2 separate regions of the Homo sapiens genome follow, and region 2 is linked to region 1. Evidence: promoter capture Hi-C in human tissues and cell types (Jung and others, 2019). All regions are on one chromosome and are shown on one strand. Each heading gives the region's core, a stretch centred on a gene start or on the middle of the fragment in contact. The rest is flanking DNA. Distances are from core to core; before and after follow the strand shown. Region 1 holds the start of CHST3 (carbohydrate sulfotransferase 3). Region 2 overlaps ASCC1 (activating signal cointegrator 1 complex subunit 1).

What was found. Contacts are between HindIII fragments. The study calls those that stand out against the background at their distance.
Region 2: a fragment that was not itself captured here is called in contact with the fragment with the promoter of CHST3 in region 1 in 1 of the 25 tissues and cell types used here (hippocampus).

What each region holds. Positions count from the first base shown.
Region 1 is chr10:71,961,649-71,969,172 of GRCh38, forward strand. CHST3 (carbohydrate sulfotransferase 3) reads left to right here and starts at 2,747. Exons shown (of 3, transcript NM_004273.5): 1 at 2,747-3,046. The HindIII fragment of the contact is 9,967 bases long and covers 1-6,716 here.
Region 2 is chr10:72,201,118-72,208,160 of GRCh38, forward strand. ASCC1 (activating signal cointegrator 1 complex subunit 1) reads right to left here. Exons shown (of 10, transcript NM_001198800.3): 4 at 2,310-2,407. Among named protein-coding and RNA genes, the nearest start is that of ANAPC16, 11 kb to the right of the region's middle. The HindIII fragment of the contact is 9,463 bases long and covers 1-7,043 here.

The DNA.
Region 1 (7,524 bases), core at 1,497-3,996:
AGTGGCTCCTATGGGCTTAGCAGGATCTTGCCCATGAAGATCGTCAGTGTGTGCCTGTGCTACAAGCCACACTCTTTCCTTCTCTTCTGGAAGGAGAGTATAGAAGAGAGGATAATGTAGAGATCATGCCAAGTGAGTTCATAAGATTGGGTAAGATATTTAAATTCTTTGATATAAGTATCAGGATCGGAGGAGAAGGACCTGAGACGTTTTTCAATCTGTGAGAGATTGGAGAGGGAGAAAGGGAAATGGACACGGATGATCCCCTTGCTCCTGCTACTTCCCAGAGAGGAAGCAAGGGAACTGGTTGCTGAGTATGTTGGGCCCAAGAGCGGGTGAGGGGTGGAGATGGAGAGGACTCAGAGTCAGAAGCGGGGTGGTTGGAGAGAGGGGGACAGATGGGTAGAGCCAGAGCAGGGACATACCGTGAAGAATCATGATGCTCTGGTGGAGGATCAAGATGCTGTCAGGGAGGGGCAAAATTGGCGGGGTCAAAGAAAGAGGAGTTGTCGGCTGGGGCTGTTGCGGGGGTGGTGGGAGACGGGGGTGGTGGGAGACAAGTCTGGTGAGTAGGATTTGGAAAGTGGAGCAGTACTGGCAGAGGGAAGGGCGGTTACGGAGAGTGAAGAAAGCCTGAACATAAGGAATCTCAGACCATTTCCCACTGCGATGGCAAAAGTCGTCTAAGTCTCTAAGTATATTGAAATCAAAAGTGCCATTTTCAGGCCATTGGGAGCCATTGTCCAATTGGTATTGAGGCCAAGTGGTATTGCAGTAAAAGATAAGTCTCTTAGAACGGACCTCTGAATGGAGGCTGAGAGCCTTGAGATTGCAGAGGAGACAGCCAAGGCGGGTGGTCTTGGGATGGGTAGACTGAGAGGCTCCCATAGTGAATGGAGGGTGGGGGGTAGAGGAAGAAGAGACTGCAGATGACAAGGATGGCGAGAGAGGGTGTCCCCTGTCCTGCAGGCCTTGTCTGGAATAGAGGCAGCCACCGAGTCAGGTGTCCTTCAGGTCTCCTCTATTCTGGACAAGGCCCTTGGGTGAGGGGTGATAGGAGAGAGAGAGGGGAGGGGGGAGAGGGAGAGAGAGAGAGACACCTCTAAGGACACGCAGCCAGAGCCTGTCCCCTTCCTGGGTTTCGGCACCAAAATGTAACGTTAGCTGAGAGAAAGGACAAGAGAGAGACCCAAAGTTAGGCGAGTAAGTTTATCCTGCCGGGCTGCTCCACCACAGTCAGAGGAGGCAGCCCTGGAGCTTATAAAATGAGGGGTTCATATGGGGGAGAGAGACCCTGGGGTTGTCGGTTAACTTTACCACATATCATCTCGTGACCGCTTACAATATAGGAATTTAGAAGAGGGTGTAACTTAAGTTTATCCACATTTCTCGTGACCTTCCCCATGCTGCCTGTTGGGCTGTAAGCAAGTCTGGTGACCTTGCTGTAGCACCTAGATAAGGGTCCAGGAATGCAGCTTCGGAGTATTCAGGGTAAGGGTCAGCTGCATTGTGTGTGGGGCGGGGGGTTCCTGGGGCAACTTGTCCCTAACAGGGTCAGGATTAGTTCTATCTGGTTCTCTATTTGCTGTCCATCTGTAAATGCTGAGAATGGCAGAGGGAGGCCAAGTGTAGATAATCAGGTTTTAGCTTTTTTGGATTTTCCTACTTCTCCTGTACAGGAAATAACTTATTGTCTAAACCCCATACTATCCCATTAAATGTCAGGAGTGCTGTCTTAGGCCTGAATTAGCTCATGACGTTACGTACTGGAAGTCCCAGGAGGAATGCCCAGCAAGTGGAATCCAAGACGTTCTCGCCTTCTCGGGGACAGGGCCATCACCAGGATTCGGAAAGGAACAGGGAGGTTCGGTTTGTGTTCCAGTTCTGAGCCCTTTACCTCATCCCTCGAGAAGCTGGCCTTTGCACCCCGCAGCCGGTGCTGCCCAGCCGACCACGCCATGCACGGGAGGCGACTGGGACCCCACTTGCCTGGCAGCCCGGCCGGAGACCCAGCTGCCTGGGAGGGTCCGAAGATAATGCCAGGCAGCCCTGGCGGGCCGGGAAGACCCTCTGTCCCTCCCGTTTCCCAGTTCTTGAATTAGGGGAGCCTTGGACTGGCTGGCGGCGCAGGAAAGTGCAGGAGGGCGGATGTGGGACCTGCTGCCGCCCAGGGAGACGGTGCTCTGTTCTTTGGAACCAGGGAAACCGTCCTCCAGCCCACTTGCCCCAGGGGGGAGCAGGAAGATCCTCTCCGGGCAGAGATGATGGGGAACCCGTGCAGCCAGAGGGTCTCCCTGGCAAAGGTCGGGGGAGGGGGCGGCCGTAACGGCCCCGGGCGCTCCGGCACGGAGAAGCCAAGGGGGTTCTCCAAGCAGCCTCCACCCACCAGCCTCGCCAGGAGAGCGTGGATACCCGAGCGGCCCCAAGCGAGTCCCCGGGGACTGGAGGGCCGAGGGGCAGCGCCCGGAACAAAGGCCCGCAGAGGGGTCCTGGAGACAGCGGCTCCCCGGGGGCGGCTCCCCTCTCTCCCCTCTCTCCCCTCCTCTCCTCTCCCGCCAGCTCCTCCTTCTCCTCCCCTTCCTCCCCCAGAGGCCCGGCCGGCTCGCGGCCCGAGCAGCGCCAACTTCGCCAACGGTTCCCAAGTTGCCGGGCGCGCAGGGGTGGGAGCTGGGTGGGGTGAGGAAGAGGAGGAGGAGGAGGAGAAGGGCTCCCGGACGCCTTGGACGCGGTTCAGGAATCCGCCGCCGCTAGCCGGCTCGGGCCTGAGCGGGGAGGGCGCCAGGCAGGACCTCTCGCAGGCTCGCTGCGCAGGACGGCGCCCGCCTGGCGCCGCTTCCCTTCCAGCGTGCCGACCGGCCCCGCAGCGCCTCCATCCCTCCGGCCCGCCCCGGAGAAGACGCACAGCTCGGGCCGCGCGGGCGCCGGGGCCGCGGAACCGCTTCTGCCGGGATCTTCCAGGAGGAAAGCGAAGTTGCGAGCGGATGCTGCCCGCGCCGGACCCCAGCCGCGGAGGGTCGGGGCCGCCGGTGGAGTCTCGGCGGCCGGGGTAAGTGGGGCGCCGGCGTCCTGGAACCGCCGCCCAGCCCGGGGGAGGCCGCCCAGCCGGGAGCCCCCGCCTTCCGCGTCCAGGCGCGCGCGCCAGACTTTGGAGGGAGAAGGGGGCGAAGCGGACGGTGGGAGGTGGAGTTCCCAGCTCGGGGAAAAGCCCAGGCAGGCACCCACAACCCGCTGCAACCGGATCACACCTGCCAGGTACACACAGCTCATCGCCACTCATACCCCGCACACGGCGCAGGCTGATCTGCGCACACCCACACCGGCCAGGCACATGCCACACACCGAAATGCACATTCCTGGGAGCGCGGGGGATTTGGCCTCTACAGCAGGCACGTCCTCACACCCCTCCGTCACATCCACGGCCTTTGTCTGCTGCCCCCGCAGCCCCCAAGGAGAGGGAGCCCCCAAAGCGCAGCGGGCAGGAGAGAGGCTGCCTGGGTTTTGAAAACTTGTGGCCAGAACCCCGAGACCAAGGGGAGCAGATGTTGCAGTCGGTTCTCGGAGTTCTGCAGGAGCGAATTTGGTGTGGAAACTCGGTGTCTGGGTGATGTGTGAGTGTGCGAAGCCCTTCCGGAGGCGAGGCCCGGAGAGAGGAGGGAGTGATTCATAAACTCAGAGCCGGCGTGCCAGGGTCTGTGAGCAGCGTGGAAGAGGCTGGCAGGCCGTTGCTGCGCTAGACAGAAGGGTAGTGGCCGTGACAGTCTTCCAGGGAAGCAGGGACCCTTCCCCCCAGCGGATGTGCTTCCTCCAGGGACTTCCAAGGGAACCGGGTGAGCAGATTCCAGTCCTGGGTGTGGACGGGGTAAGGGGAGGTGGGGGGATTTAAGCCTAAAAGGTTAGGGAGAAACCAAGGCAGGCCTGACGCCTTCATTATTTTCCTTGCACCTGAAGTTGTGTTTGGTTTCTGATGCGTGGTGTTGCTGGGCCCCAGGATGTACGGGGGATTGTCCTGGGCCTAGCATAGTGCCTGGCACAGTGGGCACTCAGTCAGTACTTGCTTGATGAATAATGACACCGGTAATTATCATTCATTATGGACTCACTGTGCGGCAAGGCCAGTGGGCCTCTGCTGGGTTGAAATTGATTTTCCAGCAGAGAAGGGGGCCTGAGTAGCTCCTAGGAGCCCTGCCTGATCTGCTTGGGCCAGTGGCCCAGGCACTGTGTGTTCCACTGTGTCCCGTGGGCTGGCCTTGGGAGACTGGAGCTCATCATTGGCCTCTGCCCCTCTAAGAGGGCAGCAGGAAAAGCTTCATTTCTGTATCTGGCTAAGATGGGGTTGATGTGGGTTTTGGTAGATGGCAGGCTGTTTGGCAGATTCTGTGGGGTCTCAATTGAAGAATAACTTTAGATCTGCAGCAGAGAGAGGGGTTGGTTCCATCAACCCTCCCATCTCCTGGCTGCTGGAGAAGAGGGGTGGGTAAGTGGAGAAAGAGATGGGCCGTGCTGCTGGGCATGTGCTGGGGGTAGGAGGAACATGGGAACATGTAGAATTTGGGGGCAGCCGTTTTTCTTCCTGGCTCCTGATGGCCTGGCTGGAGATGGGTCTCATGAAGGGTCTAGGAGCTGTGTTCTGCAGCAGTGGCTTGGCTCTGTGGTGGCAGCAGGTAGAGCAGTGGTCACAGTCCCTGTACTGAGTATTGCTGTGGGTTCTCCTGTGCCAGCTTGCATGAGTTTCCCAGAGGAGCAGAAACATTCGTGTTCCTGGAACTGGATTGCCAGTAGTCTTGGGATTGAGAGTGCACAAAGATGTGGGGGTGGCCTGGGCATGTCATCCAAAAGAAATGTGTCATTCCCCACCCCTGCCCCCTTGTGAAGAGCTCTGACTAGGTTCAGTGTGCATTTCAAACTTCTAAATGCTGAAATTAGCAAGGCATGTGGGCGGCACCAAGGACTGGCCTCAGATGAAAGAGGAGGTGATCTGGGCTTGGGCACCCCCAATTTCAGGTGGAACCCTGCAGCCAGTTCCTTCCCTATATCACCTTTCCACCTTCATTATGCCCTCTGTGAATCGAGAGTTCTGTATACATTTTCTAATTAAATCATTATATCCCTATGAGGTTAGCATTTCATCTCCATTTTGCAGATTAGGAAACTGAGGACCAGAAAAGTTAAGTAACTTTTTCAATGTCACACAGGTAGTGAGAGACAAAGCCAGTGTTTGTGTATTTGGTTTTTTTAAACTTTATGTTAGGTTCAGAGGTACGTATACAGGTTTGTTACATAGGTAAATTGTATGCCATGGGGGTTTGGTGTACAGATTATTTCATCATCCAGGTAGTAAGCATAGTACCCAATAGGTAGTTGTTGGGTTTGTTTGAGACAGGGTCTCTATTGCTCAGGCAGGAGTGCAGTGGCACGATCACTGCCACTCACCATAGCCTCGACCTCCTGGACTCAGGTGATCCTCCTGCCCCAGCCTCCCGAGTAGCTGGCACCACCATGCCTGACTAATTTTTTTGTATTTTTTGTAGAGACAGGGTTTTACCATGTTGCCCAGGCTGGTCTCAAACTCTGGAGCTCTAGCGATCTGCCTGCCTCCACCTCCCAAAGTGCTGGGATTACAGGTCTGACACACTGCACAGGCCCGAGATGGGTGGTTTTTGATCCTCACCCTCCCCACTGTCTCCACCCTCAAGTAGGTCCTGGTGTCTGTTGTTCCCTTCTTTGCGTTCAGATGTACCCAATGTTTAGCTCCCACTTCTAAGTGAGAGCATGGGGCACTTGATTTTCTGTTCCTGTGTTAGTTTGCTTAGGATAATAGCCGCTAACTCCATCCATGTTGCTGCAAAGGACATGATCTCATTCTCTTTTATGGCTACATAGTATTTCATGGTATATATGTACCACATTTCTTTATCTGGTCTACCGTTGATGGGCATTTAGGTTGATTTCATGTTTTTGCTATTGTGACTAGTGCTATGATAAACATACGTGTGCATGTATCTTTATGGTAGAACAATTTATATTATTTTGGGTATGTACCCAATAATGGGATTGCTTGGTAGAATGGTAATCCTACTTTGAGTTCTTTGAGAACTCTCCAAACTGCTTTCCACAATGGCTGAACTAATTTACATACCCATCAGCAGTGTATAAGCACTCTGTTTTTTGTTTTTTGTTTTTGGTGGGAGTGGTGGGATGGAGTCTTGCTCTGTCACCAGGCTGGAGTACAGTGGTGCGATCTTGGCTCACTGCAACTTCCACCTCCCAGGTTCAAGCAATTCCCCTGCCTCAGCCCCCTGATAGGCGTGCACCACCATGCGTGGCTAATTTTTTTTTTTTTTTGTATTTTAGTAGAGACGAGGTTTCACCATGTTGGCCAGAATGGTCTCGATCTCCTGACCTCGTGATCTGCTCACCTCAGCCCCGCAAAATGCTGGGATTACAGGCATGAGCCGCCTCGCTTGGCCAGCACTCCCTTTTCTCCACAACCTGGCCAGCATCTGTTAATGTTTGACTTTTTAATAATAGCTATTCTGACTGGTATGAGATGGTATCTCATTGTGGTTTTGATTTGCATTTTTCTAATGATTAGTGATGTTGACCGTTTTTTCATATGTTTGTTGGACACATGTATGTCTTCTTTTGAAAAGTATCTGTTTGTGTCCTTTGCCCACTTTTTAATGGGGTTGTTTTTTGCTTGTTAACTTGTTCAAGTTCCTTATAGATTCTGGATATTAGACTTTTGTCGGATGCATAGTTTGCAAATATTTTCTCCTGTTCTGTAGGTTGTCTGTTTACTCTGTTGATAGTTTCTTTTGCTGTGCAGAGGCTCTTTAGTTTAATTAGGTCCCATTTGTCAATTTTTGTTTTTGCTGCAATTGCAAAGCCAGTATTTGAACCCAGATTGTCTAACTCCAGAACCCACCCTGTCTCCACCATGCCAGGCTGTCTGCAAGGCCCTTATTGGTTCTCCATGGCAACAGGGAAACAGCCCTGATGCTTCTTACTAACGTGGTCCCAGGGCCTCTGCTTGCATTCTTCTTTTTCCATACACTCTGCCGAGCCTGGATATACCTTAGGCTGTGGGAATCAAAGGCTGGGTGGTACCAGGCTGCTGGAGCCTTCTGTGTGGCTCTGGAGTCAGAAAACTGTGGAGATTTTGGGGGGGCACACAGGGAGATGTTGCAGTAATTCCAGTGAGACATGACTCACTGCTTATCTGAGAAGTTGGGACAAAGCTGCCTCTTGTGACCATACCGTGAATAGGGAAGAAATTGCCAGGTAGACCAAACATCCTCAAATGGGTTACTGTATTTTTTTCCCCTTTTTGGTCCTCTCCAGGGTAATCTATTACCTGGGGAAATCAGCCTTCACCTGACACCTCCTATTGTCATTTACCTGGTGAACATAAGGGGCCATGTCACAGCTGTCCTTCCCACCCCTGCCACGTGTTCTGGAGAGCTGGACTCCTCAGCAGCACCTGGTCCACAGGAGAGAAGAATGGGGCAGAGCCGGAGCAGCCAG
Region 2 (7,043 bases), core at 1,808-4,307, 240 kb after region 1:
TTGCTACTTATCTGCTGTCAAGGTGATTATTCTTTTGTGTGTGTGTGTATGACAGGGTCTCACTCTGTCACCCAGGCTGGAGTGTGGTGGCATGAACACAGTTCACTGCAGCCTGGAGCTCCTGGTCTCAAGTGATCCTCCCACCTCAATCTCCCACAGTGCTGGAAGTACAGGTATATGCCACTGTCCCCAGTCAAGGTGATTATTCTCACATAACATAAAATGAAAAAGAGTACTTATAATTTTTTATGCAAAAACAATACAATCTATGAACATTTATGGAAAATGGGGCTAGACGCAGTGACTCTTGTCTATAATCCCAGCACTTTGGGAGGCCAAGGAGGATCGCTCAAGCCCAGGAGTTCAAGGCCAGCCTGGGCAACATAGCAAGACCCCATCTCTACAAAAAGTATTAAAAATTAGCTGGGCATGGTGCTAAGCGCCTGTAGTCCCAGCTACTTGGAAGGCCGAGGGAAAAGTATTGCTTGAGCCCAGGAGTTCAAGGCTACAGTGAGCTATGATGGAGCCAATCAACTCTAGCCTGGGCGACATGCTCTTGCCTGTAACCCCAACACTTTGGGAGGCCAAGGCAGGCAGATCGCTTGAGCTCAGGAGTTCAAGACCAGCCTGAGCAATGTGGCAAAACCTTGTCTCTACAAAAAATACAAATAAATTAGCCAGGTGTGGTGGCGTGTTCCTGTAGACCCAGCTATGCAAGGCTGAGATGAGAGGATTGATTGAGTCCAGGAGGTAGAGTCTACACTGAGCTGTGATCATGCCACTACACTCCAGCCTGGGCAACAGAGACTCTGTCTCCAAAAATAAAATAAAATAAAATAAAGGACTAAAAGGCCGGGCATGGTGTCTCATGCCTGTAATTCCAGCACCTTGGAAGGCTGAGGCAGGCAGATCACTTCAAACCAAAAATTCAAGATCAGCCTGGGCAACATGGTGAAATCCTGTCTGGATAAAAAATAAATAAAAATTTTTAAATGAAAAAAGAAAAAGAAAATGGGTTAATGAATTATTGGAGGTTGCTGCACTCTTTGACTTTAAAAAAGTTCCATCGGCCAGACATGGTGCTCACGCCTGTAATCCCAGCACTTTAGAAGGCCAAGGTGGGTGGATCACTTGAGGCCAGAAGTTTGAGACCAGCCTGGCCAACATGGCGAAACCCTGTCTCTACCAAAAAATACAAAAATTAGCTGGGTTTGGTGGCACACACCTGTAGTCCCAGCTACTCGGGAGGCTGAGGCAGGAGAATCGCTTGAACCTGGGTAGCGGAGATTGCAGTGAGCTGAGATTGCACCTCAGCACTCCAGCCTGGGTAACACAGCAAGACTCTGTCTCAAAAAAAAAAAAAAAATTCCATCCTTCCAGAATGAGTTTACAGTTTTGTCCTAACAATGCCCCTCACTCAAAGCCATTGTACATACAACAAAAGCCTATGCCCTTGGTTTACACTGAGGCTTGGTACAGACACTTTCTAACTTGATTTATACTGCTAAACTATTTTTCCTTATCAGAACAGTTATTTGAGTCAAGTTATATTATTTTAATCATTACTCTTATAATTTCCTTCCTAGTCTACAAAATCAAGGGTAAAAAATTGAGAGCACAATGGAAAAGGCTGAACTTTATTTTATATTCACTGATCTCATTGATTTTCTCTAATTCTAATTGGAAACAATTCACAAATCCATTTCAAGTTACCAAAGCATGAAAAGAAATCTCCTAATACACAGTGAAATCTGGAAGCTTTATTCCATCAATGTATGGTAAAGTATAAAATTAAGGCCCAGGTACTCAATCAAGATAAGGTTATATAATTCCATCTTTCCTCATTTGGGAGACTGGTACTGATAAACCATAAAGACGCCCATAGCTGGCCGGGCACGGTGGCTCACGTCTATAATCCCAACACTTTGGGAGGCCGAGAGGGGAGGATCACCTGAGGTCAGGAGTTCGAGACCAGCCTGACCAACATGGAGAAACCCCGCCTCCACTAAAAATACAAAATTAGCCAGGCGTGGTGGCACATGCCTGTAATCCCAGCTACTAGGGAGGTTGAGGCAGGAGAATCGCTTGATTCCGGGAGGCGGAGGTTGCAGTGAGCCGAGATCACACCACTGCACTCTAGCCTGGGTAACAAGGGCAAAACTCCGTCTCAAAAAAAAAAAAAAAGAAAAGAAAAAGCCCATAGCTAGAACCCCACAGAAAACATAGTTACTAAACACTGCAGTTGGTTACATTATTCCATAAACATGCAAAAGTGACTTCAAATGTAACTTATATCTACTGAGTCTCACCAATTTCCCCGTCTTGTCCAGGTTTAGGAATGCTAATAGAAGTTTTGGTCTCCATTTCTATTTTCTTCCTAGTGTCCCCTCTCTTTCCAACTATATGCCTGTAACATAAAGTAATTAAAAGAAGATTAAGTCAAAATGTACCAAAATAAAGAACCTCATTATGTTTAAATCCTTTGTGACAAGAGATACTCCCTTACAGAAAAGTAGTTCAGTAAAAGCTCAATATTTGCGGAAGAAATTACAAGTCATCTAGCTTTAGAACATGCTGCAGTAAAGTCATTGGCAAAGATGAGTTTTTGGCCCTATAGCCAATTCAATGCAGAGATAGAAAAACCATGCCCAACACCCGTTTGCTTCTCAAAATGAGATTTAAAATCTGGGTCTGCAATAAAGTGAAAGAAAAGCTGGCCAGCAGGTGCAGTGGCTCACACCTGTAATCCCTGCTACTCAAAAGACTGAGGTGGGAGAACTGCTTGAGACCAGGAGTTTGAGACCAGCCTGGGCAACAGAGTAAGACCCCGTCTCTAAAAAAATATTTTAGGCTGGCGGCAGTGGCTCACGCCTGTAATCCCAGCACTCCAGGAGGCTGAGGTGGGCAGATTGCCTGAGGTCAAGAGTTCGAGACCAGCCTGGCCAACATGGCAAAACCCCATCTCTACAAAAATACAAAAATTAACTGGGTGTGACAGCAGGGTGCCTGTAATCCCAGCTACTTGGGAGGCTAAGGCAGGAGAATCACTTGAACCCGGGAGGTGGAGGTTGCAGTAAGCTGAGATCGCACCACTATACTCCAGCCTGGGCGACAAGAACGAGACTCTGCCTCAAAAAATAAATTTTTTTTTCAATTTTTTTCAATAGAAAAATTAGAATATCTGAGGACTCATGGCAACAGCGAGCTACAGCCAACTCTCGACTACCCCATGAAGACGGGACATGAGCTCACAATCCCCATCACTCCCACTTAAATCACTTATTGACTCATTTACATTACTTGCCTGGACTTCCAAGTATAAATATTCTGACAATCCAAAGTTATCTTCTGGAACCCACAGTCGTTTGATGTGTTCAAGTGAATGAGACTACCGAATCCCAAGAGAGAAGTTTCAGAGTCTATAAAGCACTAAGAGGCCATCACAGGGCTATCAAGTTAAGAACTCCTTGTCATCAACGTTATTTTAACCTCTATGACTTCAATTACAGTACCCAATTCTACGGATGACTATGTCTAAAACTATTCGTTAGTTTTTGCGTGGGATAAGAAAGCCCAATTACTTCCCTTAAGATCTATTATAGTAAGCCAGTTTTTAAAAATAAGATGTTTAGAGGAAGATTGGAAGTCTGTAATTTCCAAGTGGTTTTCCTGTGTGTTGGGATAGAGATTGTAGGGCACCAAACTCTGTGAGGTCTTTGTTTTCCCACCTTACCAATTAGGAGTGCTTTCTGTCAGGCTCCAGTTTGTTACTATGTGGCTAGTGAACAAGCCTATCACAAAAAGCAGTGGTTCAAAGTGCTATTAATAATCTAGGCTTCAGCACCTTAGAAAGCAAAGTGGTTGAGGTTTAAAAGGCTTTAGAATCAAACAAACCTTGGAATTCATATAACCACTGTAAGCCTACTTCTTCACTTATCAAAATGAAGTGAGAGGCTGACGCAGAAGGATCCCTTAAGCCCAGGAGTTCAAGGCTATGGTGAGCTATGATCACACAGTGGCACTCTGGCCTGGGTGACAAAGTGAGATCCTGTCTCTAAAAAAATAAAAATAGGCCAGGTGCAGTGGCTCATGCCTGTAATCCCATAATTTGGGAGGCAGAGGCGGGCAAATCACTTGAGGTCAGGAGTTCAAGACCAGCCTGGCCAACATGGCGAAACCCTGTCTCTACCAAAAATACAAAAATTAGCAAAGCCAGGCAAGGTGGCTCAATGCCGGGTGCGGTGGCTCACACCTGTAATCCCAGCACTTTGCGAGGCCGAGGTGGGGGGGATCACCTGAGGTGAGGAGATCGAGGCCAGCCTGGCCAACATGGTAAAACCCCATCTCCACTAAAAATACAAAAATTAGCCAGGCGTGGTGACAGGTACCTGTAATCCCAACTACTCGGGAGGCTGAGGCAGGAGATTGCTTGAACTCGGGAGGCAGAGGTTGCAGTGAGCCAAGATCACACCACTGCACTCCAGCCTGGGTGACAAGAGTGAAACTCCATCTCAAAAAAAAAAAAAAAAAATAGCAGGGTGTGGTGGCGGGCGCCTGTAATCCCAGCTACTTGGAAGGCTGAGCAGGAGAATTGCTTGAACCTGGGAGACAGGGGTTGCAGTAAGCAGAGATCGCACCACTGCATTCCAGCCTGGGCGACAGAGGGAGACTCCGTCTCAAAAAAATAACTAAATAAAATTAAATTAAATTTGGCTGGGGGTGGTGTCTCACGCCTGTAATCCCAGGGAGGCCAAGGTGGGTGGATCACCTGAGGTCAGGAGTTCAAGACCAGCCTGGCCAACGTGGTGAAACACCATCTCTACTAAAAATACAAAAATTACCCAGGCATGGTGGCAGATGCCTGTAATGCCAGTTACTCGGGAGGCTGAGGCGGGAGAATCACTTGGACCCAGGAGGCAGAGGTTGCAGTGAGCTGAGATTGTGCCATTCCACTCCAGCCTGGGTGACAGAGCGAGACTCTGTCTCAAAAACAAAAAAAAAAAGAGGCCAGGCATGGTGGCTCACGCCTGTAATCCCTGTGCTTTGGAAGGCTGAGGCGGGTGGATCACCTGAGGTCAGGAGTTGGAAACCAGCCTAACCAACATGGAGAAACCCCACCTCTACTAAAAATACAAAATTAGCCGGGCATGGTGGCGCATGCCTATAATCCCAGCTACTCGGGAGGCTGAGGCAGGATAATCTCTTGAACCTGGGAGGCAGAGGTTGTGGTGAGCCGAGATCATGCCATTGCACTCCAGCCTGGGCAACAAGAGCGAAACTCCCGTCTCAAAAAAAAATAAACATTAAATTAAATTAAAATGGAATGAATAATACCTATTTGTCATAAGGTTGTCGTAAGGATTAAATGTGATCATATATGAAAGAGCTTCCCAATAAGTGGCACAGAGCTCCATACAGTCCATGCTGTAGGGCAGATGCCCCTAACGTTAGTAGATTAAGCATACCGGGAGAAGGACCCTGACAGTAATAACTTAAGCCTACCTGAGAATCACCCTATGATCTAAAAGGAATTATGTGTTCAGAGTTCCAAACTACGGAATCCGGCTTGGATTCATTCCAACCCAGAGATTCATTCCTTTATCTATGAGGAACATCTGAATCCCTGACCCGTTTATGGAACCCAGGCCATACAGAGGATTGAGGCCCTTTGTTTTGGATTAAATAAAGGTTGCCAGGTGATGGCTGCTAGGGGCAGGGTGCTAAGTGGAAATGTTATATAAACTGTATGCTTTTTCCAAGCAGTTGAAGTTCTGTCCAGCCCACCACCACAGCACCACCCTTTATGCAAGTCCCCTCAATAAATCCTCTGTCTCATTTGCTGGCTCTGGGTCTCTTCCCCAGCCTCTCTAACATGGTGCCATCCCCATCAAAGTCAACAGGTGTGCGGCATGACATATGCTATCCTCATTAAACCTATACTGGCACCTTTTCAGTTAAAAGTATAACTGGACAGAAAAGAGGTTTACATGGAAAATCTAAAATACTCACTATAGGCCAGACACAGTGGTTCATGCCTGTAATCCCAGCACTTTGGGAGGCGAGGCAGGCAGATCACCTGAGGTCATGAGTTCAAGACCAGCCTGACCAACATGGCAAAACCCCGTCTCTAACAAAAACACAAAAAAATTAGCCAGGTGTGGTGGCGCATGCCTGTAGTCCCAGCTACTCGGGAGGCCGAAGCAGGAGAATCACTTAAACCAGGGAGGTAAAGATTGCAGTGAGCCCAGATCGTGCCACTGCACTCCAGCCCGAGTAACAGAGTGAGAATCCGTCTCAAAATAATAAAATAAATAAAATATTTGCTACAATAATACAAATAAGCAGTGACAAGGTGACTCCTTGGTTGAATACATAAGAGGAAATTCCTACCAGGTCAAGTGGTTCTCAGTCTTGGCTATACACTGGAATCACCTGGGGGGCTTCAAATAGTGATACCTGGGTCCTGCTCCCACAGACTCTGATTTAATCGGTCTGGGGTGCACCCAAGCCCTGGGATTTTCAGAAGTTCCCCAGATGATTCTCCTGTGCACCTGAGGCTAAGAACCACAGCATGAGACATAACCCATGGACAGGTGTTGACAATATTAGGCTCTGATTATAAATTAGTTTGGCCAGGTAATTTCTTTCTTGATCCAAATAAGCCTACAGAAATTATTCCCAAGAAAGAAATCTTAGTATTTTTTTTTTTTTTGACACAGGATATTGCTCTGTCGCCCAGGTGGAATTACATTGGCACAATCATAGCTCACTGTAACCTTGAACTTCTGGGCTCCAGCAATACTCCTGCCTCAACCTACCAAGTAGCTGAGACTACAAGCACTCACTACCACGCCTGGCTAATTTATTTTTTTTATTTTTATTTTTTGTTGTAGAAACAGGGTCTCACCATGTTGCCCAAGCTGGGTGGTCTCCAACTCATGGGCTCAAGCAATCCTCCCATCTTGGCCTCCCGAAGTGCTGGGATTACAGGTATGAGCCACCACACCCAGCCTTCCGAGTAAATATTACCTATTAATTAGGAT